3 separate regions of the Homo sapiens genome follow, and regions 1 and 2 are each linked to region 3. The links are contacts of gene promoters, found by promoter capture Hi-C in blood cells and fetal thymus (Javierre and others, 2016). All regions are on one chromosome and are shown on one strand. The core of a region is centred on a gene start or on the middle of the fragment in contact, and the rest is flanking DNA. Distances in the headings are between cores, read along the strand shown. Region 1 overlaps POC1A (POC1 centriolar protein A). Region 2 overlaps POC1A (POC1 centriolar protein A). Region 3 holds the start of DUSP7 (dual specificity phosphatase 7).

Region 1 (2,700 bases), core at 136-2,635, 37 kb after region 3:
CAGCAGAGCTCAGAGGACCCAATGAGGCATCTCTCCCCATTTTACAAGGGAGGAGACTGAGGCTCTGGGATTGATGTCACCTGCCCAAGGTCACCCAGGTGATGAATGGTGGAGGTGTGCCCAGGCTGACAGGCAGGTGGCTCACTGGGTGAACAGAGCAGCCCTGAAACTCAAGGAGGAACAGTTGCTCCCCACAGCTGGTGGGGATGTGTAAAGCTGAACAAACCCCAGCTGCTCAAAGCATGGCATCAGCTGGGATCAGGGCCCAGAGAAGCTTAGCGAAGAAACCAGTGATGCCCCAAACAGCAAGCTCAGTGTTTACTGGGGCAAGGAGGGGTCATCCCCACACAGGGGCAGGCCAGGGCAAGGATGTGTCTGCTCTTTGGCTGGTGACCTAAGGGACTCGGCCTGCTGGGCTCTCTGATCACAGAGCCCTGGGCAAGAGCTTCTGGCCTTACCTTTCAGGGAGGTCAAGTTTGGTTTGCAGAATTTCTTGATGAAGCCATCCCTAACTGCACCAAAACTGTTTGGCAAGGGAAGCTAGGGATGCTCTGGCCCACAGTGGTTGAGATCAGGATCACCTGGCCTCCTGGAGAAGCCCCAGGCTGGCTGGACCCCGAGGCTGGTCCAGGCACAACAAGCCATTATTAACACATTATCTGCACCTGGCATGATGTTGCTGCCATGTGCCAGGTGGGAGGATAAAGTGAGGTCCACAAAGGGAAGTCCTTGGAAAGTGGCAGGCCTCAGATAAAAACCAGGAGGATGAAAACTATGATGAGTATGTGATCCCCACACTCTGAGGACTTTTCATCTAAAACAACTACGTGGGGAGGCCTGAAGACTGCACCTGCTCGGCTCACAAGGTCACCCCAAAGTCTATTTTCCCCATATAAATACACTTTTGAAAAATAATGTATGGATTTTATAAAAAAGGCTTTCATAAAAAAGTAAAACACCAACCCCATTTCTGGAGTTAAAGGGTTTCTGATGCTGTGCAAGTCCCAAGGGCAGTTTGGTTTCCTCTTCATCTGAAAGGCCTCTTGGCCTGGGAAGGCTGGGGGAAGCTGCCCCACTTGCTGGCTTGCTCCGGAGACCAGGAGCCTTGCAGGGGCCAGCCAAAGTGCTGTTTGTCTCATCGCCCCTGGGATGGAGCCATGATAGCACTGCCCTTGCTCGCGTCTCAACTTCTCTGTGTCCCCATCTCCACTCTACCCCAGACCCTCAGCATGGGTCAGGCCTCGACTTTGCCTAGTGTCCCGTCAGGTGAGGGTGAACTCCTGGGCTGCTGCTTCTGTTACCCCACACCAGAGGACCCATGGCCTTGACCCGGTGTCTGGACTCCCACTTGTTTCCAGTTATTCCAGTTGCCAGCTCCTCTGGGGAGGCCTGGCTCTGACCTTGGCAGATTCAGTCCTGAGTTCTTCCTGAAGGTGGGACTGGGTCTCACACAGGGCCCACCACACAGAGTGGGCTCAGTGAATGTGTGTGCATGGAAGGAACCTGCCACCTCTGCTCTGAGGGCCAAGGAATGGCTCTCCTGGGTAGGGAAGGGTCTAGCTTCATGAGGCAGTGGAAAATTGGGAGAGCTATTTCTGGTGCTGTCATGCAGATCCCCCTGGCCCCCAAGCCTTGGATAACGACAATGGCAGCAACAGGAGCAGCACCCAACACATCAGCAGTGCACGGCGTTGTCAGGTACTATTCAAGGAGCTTCCCAAGAGGCCTATGAAGTGGGTATTATTATCAGCTCTGTGTTCCAGATTTGGAAAGTAAGGCACACAGACTCAAAGTGACTTGCCCAAGGTCACTGAGCTAGGCAATGGGGAAGCCAGACAAAACCTGAGCCACTCCTCTCCATTGGCTCACTCAGCTTCCTGGCTTCCAGGCCTTTCCTTTACACAGAGGAGCCGCTGAAGGGGTCACCCTGGGGAGGACTGAGATTGGGTCCCTGACCCTCAGACTGGTGCCAGACAGGCCACAAACATCCACAGAGGTGACCTCGCCACATGGGGCCATACCAGCCTGTTGAACAGGAAGGCAGGCTTTGAAGACTGTGAGCCTCTGAAATAGGGTGTCCTACCCAGGGGCTGGAGACTCTGTGACTCACTCAGAAAACATCCCTGGCTACGGCCCGCTGCATCCCCATGGCTCTCCCCTAGAAGGATGTTCTGCAGGATGGAGGCCTGAAGGACCCAGAAGGCAGCTTCCCTCTCAAAGGCCACTCTGAAGTAGACTTCCCTGTGGGGGAGGGAAGGGATGGTGGAGGCAACAGAGGAGAACAGCACAATTCACATGGATGACTTTGTAGTAGGAATCAGTGTTGGGGTGGCTGGGCATCCTACCCCTCCAGAACACAAAGGCTCTTCAGGACTGGGCAGATGGCAAGGAGTGCTTGCTGATGGGGTGGCACCCGAGACCAATATCCACAGACCAAGTAGGAAGCCCAGCTGAACAAGCCGCTTGGGAAGATGGATGGTGGTGGCCGCCTGGCACTAAGCTTCAGGGGAGGGCTGGGTCAGTCTGGACCATCCAGAGCGGGGCCTGCTGTGGGCCTGCCTCTGCTGGGCCAATGCCAAGAGAAAGGCACAGGGAAACTTTCAACCCCCTGGTGGAGATAGCTCTGGCTGTGGCTGGAACATCTCAGCTAGAGAAAGCCCCATCTCCAGGAGAGAAAGGTTGGCCTAGAAGACAACCAAC
Region 2 (2,700 bases), core at 94-2,593, 60 kb after region 3:
CATCTATGAAGCAGAAAACAAACCCTCACCAGACACTAAACCCGTTGGTGCTTTGCTTGGACTTCCCAGCCTCCAGAACTGTGAGAAATAAAATTTCTATATTTATAATCTACCTAGTCTATGGTATTTTGTTATAGCATCCTGAGCAGACTAACACATAATCTATGAGGCAAGGGATGAGAAAATACTTAACCAGTATAATGTACATTATTTGGGTGATGATTACACTAAAAGCCCAGACTTCACCCCTACACAATATACCAGGTAACAAAACTGCACTTGTACTTCTGAAATGTATACAAATAATTTTAAAAAATCTATGAGGCAGATGAGGTGGAAATGGGTCTCCTCTCCCTGTTTCTCCAACTCTCTAATTCCTCAGGCAAGGCACCTGGAGTGAGAACCCAGATCTTAAAAATCCACAGGCACCCAGGACCCCCAGATCCAAAGCATAAGGGAAGATCTAGTGCCAAGAATCTCTGGGCCAGGAATCAGGGTCCCACAAATCCCTAAGTGAAGCCCACCCCTGTGGCAGTGCCCCAAAAATGGAAATGTGGGAGGTTAAGGACAAGCACAGGAGGTGGCTGGTGCTTTACTCTCAGTATCAGAGGAACTAGGAAGAAGAAATAGACCATCCTTCGGCACGGATGAGGCTCAGTTCAGATGTTCTCAACTGACCCAGCTCCCTCTTCCAGAGGACAGTTCAAGCACTGAGGCTCTGGGGATCCTGGGCATCTTGTCCTGAGGAATCCTGTGGCAGAAGGACAAGTCTGTTTCCACCCACTCACAGATCTGCTCTCTCATCTGGGAGCACAGGGGACTTGGGTCTGCCATCAGGAAACACAATTTTGATGCCTGCAAGGGTCTAGAAACCTCACTGGCCCTCACTACGATGACCTGCAGAGAGGGGTCAACGTGGAAAATTATAAGTGCTCCCATTATTGCCCACTGTCCCTCACCCCAGCAAGTTTTGAACACATAATCTCCTGGATTGGCTTTCAGTCAGGGAGGGGAAAAGAACCCTTTTTAAAGTAGCTAAAGCTTGGTGGGGCAGGCGTGGTAGTTCACACCTATAATCCCAATGCTTTGGGAGGCAGAGGCAGGAGAACTGCTTGAGCCCAGGAATTTGAGACCAGCCTAGACAAGACAGGGAGACCCTTTCTCTACAAAAAATTTAAAAAATTAGGCCAGGTGCGGTGGCTCACACCTGTAATCCTAGCCCTTTGGGAGGCCAACGCAGGTGGATCACCTGAGCTCTCGAGTTCGAGACCAGCCTGGCCAACATGGTGAAATCCCATCTCTACTAAAAATACAAAATTTAGCCAGGCGTGGAGGTGCACGCTTGTATTCCCAGCTACTCGGGAGGCTGAGGCACAAGAATCTCTTGAATCCAGGAGGCAGAGATTATAGTGAGCCAAGATTGTGCCACTGCACTCCAGCCTGGGTGACAGCACAAGACTCTGTCTCAAAAAAAAAAAAAAAATTAGCTGGGTGTGGGGGCACACGCCTATAGTCCCAGCTACTCAGGAGGCTGAGACAGGAGGATCGCTTCAGCCTGGGAGGTTGAAGCTGCAGTGAGCCACAATTGCGCCACTGTAGTTCAGCCTGGGTGACAGAGTGAGACCCTGACTCAAAAAAAATAGCTAAAGCTTGATGAGCACTTGTCATGTGCCAGGCAGATGCACCACGCATGAAATCCCACGAAGGAGGGCCCAGCCTCTCCCCAAACGACAGAAGAGAAAACCGTGCCTCACAGACGTCTGGCCACTTTCCTAGGACCACACCCCAGGCAGGGTAGAGAAAGGATTTAATCACAGGTTGGCTGGAAGCTAGAACCCAGGCTCTTAACCACAGATGAGCTTTCCTCCTTAAAATGAGATCTTGAGAGGTGAGTGGAGAAAAGCACTCAGCCCTAGAACTCAAGGTTAATGTGTGAACCGGACAGCAGCCAACCCTTAGAACTCAGAAAGTGGGTTTTTTTTTCCTCCCGTTTCACTGAATTACCTAGAACTCTGTGTTCTCCTCCCACCCCACCCAGCGCAACCTTTCTTCCCCATTGCATAATGGGCCCTCAGACATTTGGAAGGAGGGCAAAAATAAGTCAATCAAGCAAATGCATTTTTGCTATTTAAAAAGTGGTTAAAAAATGCTTCTGTGGTTGAGCAGAAGTCCGTCCTATAGTGGCAGGGGTTTGGGAGGTGTTAAATTCAAGATCAGCCAAGATACAGGGGTCTTTATGCCTCGGGGTCAGGCCCCAAAGAACAGACAGCAAGAGGGTGGACAAGAATAGAGGGGCCAGGGCTGTGGCAGGAACAGAGCTAAGCACTAGACCCTTGAAAACACGAGCACGGGCACCCAATGCAGACAATTCCCAGGGGCTCCCATCCCTTGCCCACCCTCAAGCCCCTCTGGGAGGTGCTCATTTGCCTGCAAGTGGCTCTTCCAACCTTCCCCCAGCCTTGTAGCATGTCACAAGGCTGAACATGGAGCTTCTGTCCACCCTCAGCCCAGAGCATGGCCTGGAATCCTTCATCTGCAACCTTCTAAGTAGAGAAGGTTCCCCAGCCACAAGCCCTGAAATCCCTCCTCATGCACAACTCAGCCAAGAATAGAGGGAAAATGGAACCCATTATTCTCATTCTGAATGGCTGGGAAATGGCTTTTGCTTTTCAACATGAAATGTGCCTAAAAATAAGCTGT
Region 3 (2,700 bases), core at 48-2,547:
GGACCTGGGGGTCCCGAGAGACCCGGGCCAGGGCAATGGAGCCTGCCCATACCCTGCCCCAAGCGCCTCCTAGAGGCGGCAATTCTCCGGTGGAAGAAGCAATTCCCGGATCCAGGAGACCCCAACCCAAATGGTCTCCATGCGCTGGAGGTGAGGATGGTGCTATGAAAGGTGCCCTTCCTGATCCTGGCCTTCCAGAAACACGAATTCTAGGCTGGACTTGGGCGCCCTGCCGCTTTTAGGGTTCTGGGAGGCGGCGCCTTCCACCTCTGAGGGGCTCCACTGGAGCCCAGGCACTACTGTCGCCCCATCAACAGGAAAAAAAAGGAAACCCCAGGCAGGGGAAAGTTTGTTCCACCCACTCGAATCGTGCCGAGAAAGGGGGCGCAGAGGGAGCCCCGCGCCTGCCAAACCACACAGTGGGGACCCGGCTCCAGGAGGGCGGATGCGGGCCGGGGACGACGTGGCGCCCAGAGGGGCAGGCCGAGCGCGTGGAGAGGAAAGCGCCTCCAAGGGGGGCGTCAGGGAGTCGCGGGGGGGCCCCGATCCCGTAAGGCGTCTCGGTGCCGCCCTCACCTTGGAGGTAGTAGGCCTGGCAGCCGTCGTCGCGCAGCTTCTGTAGGAGCAGGCCGAGCACGGAGGCGGGAGCGCCGGGCTCGGGCTGCCACTCGGCCGTGGCCTCGTCGTAGAGCAGCACGGTGGCCGCCTTGCAGCGCGTGGCGAAGCGCTCCTTGTCGGCGTGGTTGGGGATGATGGAGCGGATGGGCAGGTTGCCCTTGCGCAGGCGGCGCAACATGAGGCCCGGGATGGCCAGGTTGATGGCCGTCTCGATGTGCGACGACTCGAAGAGCTCGTGCGGCCGGCAGTCGAGCAGCAGCAAGGACGCGCCGCCGCGCGCCTCCAGCTCCTCCTGCAGCCACTCGGCGCTCTTGCAGGGCATGGCCCCTGCCCCCGTCGCCGCGCCCGCCCCGGTGCCTGCGCCGGACCCCGACCCCGCACCGGGCTCGGACCCCGCCCGGGTGCCCCCAGCCGCCGCCGCCCCCGAAGTCGACATGTGCGCCCGCGCTGGGGGGCCGCGGAGCTGGTTTTTCATGGGGAGCGCGGGCGGCCCGGGGCCGGGGCCGGGCAGCCCTGCCCTGGGACGGCGCCCCGGCCGCGCGGGCCCCAGCCGCGTCTCCGGGCGCCCGCCTCCCGCCGAGCTGCGCGCCCGCCGCCCCGGCCTCCCGGCCTCCCGGCCTCCGTCCCGCCCGCCCGCCCGGCCCTCCGCGCGCACCGCGGCCTGACAGCCCCAATTAAACGGCGGCTCCGGCGGCCGCGCGCCGAGGCGTTCTCCGGGGGGCGGGGCCGCGGGGGCCGGCGCCCGGGCTTAAAGGCGCAGCGCCTCCACCGCCCCTCCCCACGGGGTATGCGGGCGCGCTCGCGACCCGAGCCCGGGAGACCAGCGGCGGGGCCCTCCCCCACCGCCTCCGCACCGTTGCCCCCTGGACTAGCTCGGAGCTGACTACGATCCGCCTAGGGACCCCGGCCTAGACGCCCTCATGGGTTCACTCTGCGCGTGCTCCCAAGCTCTTCTGGACACTGCGGGAAGAGAGGCCCTGGGGGCGTCCTATGCCTGGCACCCCCACCCCACATTCACAACAGCATAGTTTTCCTGGGACGGGGCGTGGTGGGGGGGATGGTCAAGCTGAGCAACCTCTCCTCCTCCCGCCTGTCATCCCATTCATTTTTTCTGTCATCGAGTTCATTCAACAAATGAGAACTGAACGCCTACTACGTGCCAGGCACTGTGCTAGGCGGTCACCGTTTCAGAGGACCTCATCGTTCCCCTGACGGTCACAGGCTCCAGACCTGAGGGAGAGCGTCTCACGCCAGCAGGCCTGATGGGAAATCAGGACCTGGGCAACTGGCGGGGTAGGAAGACTCAGGGCCGTGCCACCTTCCGTGGGCAGGTGTGGAGAAATCCTAGAAAGGACCAGCTTTGGGAAGGGATCGCGAGCCCTTTAAGAAAGCTTTACAAGCGGGGTGGTGACAGGCGCCCAGTGAAGCGCCACGTGACTTTTTCCACGGGGCCGGTGGGAGGGGAATGCTCCTTTATAATCAGCTTTCCTTCCCCTGCCTCCCTCTCAACGGACCAATCAACTTCCGCGGTAGGCGGGCGCCTGCCATGCAGATGGCCAATCCTGGCCGAAAGAGGCGGTGGCGGAGGGAGGCGGGGCCCGCCGCGGTTTCCACCCAGGGCGGGGAAGTGGGCGGGGCCTCCGCCCGCCCTGTGTGTCGATTTGCAGGCAGGCGGGGCAGCGGAGGTGAATGGACCCGCAGGTAGCGCTAGAACAAAGCGGCTAGACGCAGGCGGCGCGCTTGCGTAGGACCTGCAGTGCTTTCCCTACGGAGCCAGGGTGGCAGCTTGAGGCTGGACCCTGCCGTCTATCTGGTCCATTCTTTTGCCTGGCGGGGTGCCCCTCCTTGGGGCTTAACCCCCCGACTCCGCCCGAGGCTGGTCGGCTCTGAGACACCTTGCCCCCATCCCTGACTGGGGGAGCGGTGGTGCTTGAGGGACGGCCTCTGGAACCCCGAGGATTTGAGCTTTCCGCTAACCTCTGACCAGAAGGCACGAAAAGGGGTGACTCAGGAGCAGTCCCCGCCTGTCTTTCAAGCGAGGGATAGTCTTTCGGAAGAGTTTCATCCTGGGCCACAGGGCTG

The links. The method cuts DNA at HindIII sites, captures the fragments that hold promoters and counts their contacts. A CHiCAGO score of 5 or more calls a contact.
Region 1: a contact is called between a fragment that was not itself captured here and the fragment with the promoter of DUSP7 in region 3, in 1 of 17 cell types (endothelial precursors). The highest score is 6.7, in endothelial precursors.
Region 2: a fragment that was not itself captured here is called in contact with the fragment with the promoter of DUSP7 in region 3 in 3 of 17 cell types (M0 macrophages, endothelial precursors and megakaryocytes); the score reaches 7.8 in M0 macrophages.

Annotation. Positions count from the first base shown.
Region 1 is chr3:52,091,842-52,094,541 of GRCh38, forward strand. All of the region lies in intron 10 of POC1A (POC1 centriolar protein A), which reads right to left. Among named protein-coding and RNA genes, the nearest start is that of LINC00696, 28 kb to the left of the region's middle. The HindIII fragment of the contact is 2,226 bases long and covers 273-2,498 here.
Region 2 is chr3:52,115,721-52,118,420 of GRCh38, forward strand. All of the region lies in intron 9 of POC1A (POC1 centriolar protein A), which reads right to left. Among named protein-coding and RNA genes, the nearest start is that of POC1A, 37 kb to the right of the region's middle. The HindIII fragment of the contact is 608 bases long and covers 1,040-1,647 here.
Region 3 is chr3:52,055,274-52,057,973 of GRCh38, forward strand. DUSP7 (dual specificity phosphatase 7) reads right to left here and starts at 1,298. Exons shown (of 3, transcript NM_001947.4): 1 at 577-1,298. The coding sequence starts at 1,093. RefSeq lists silencers at 589-638, 959-1,018, 1,219-1,598, 1,999-2,358. The HindIII fragment of the contact is 7,722 bases long and covers 1-2,007 here.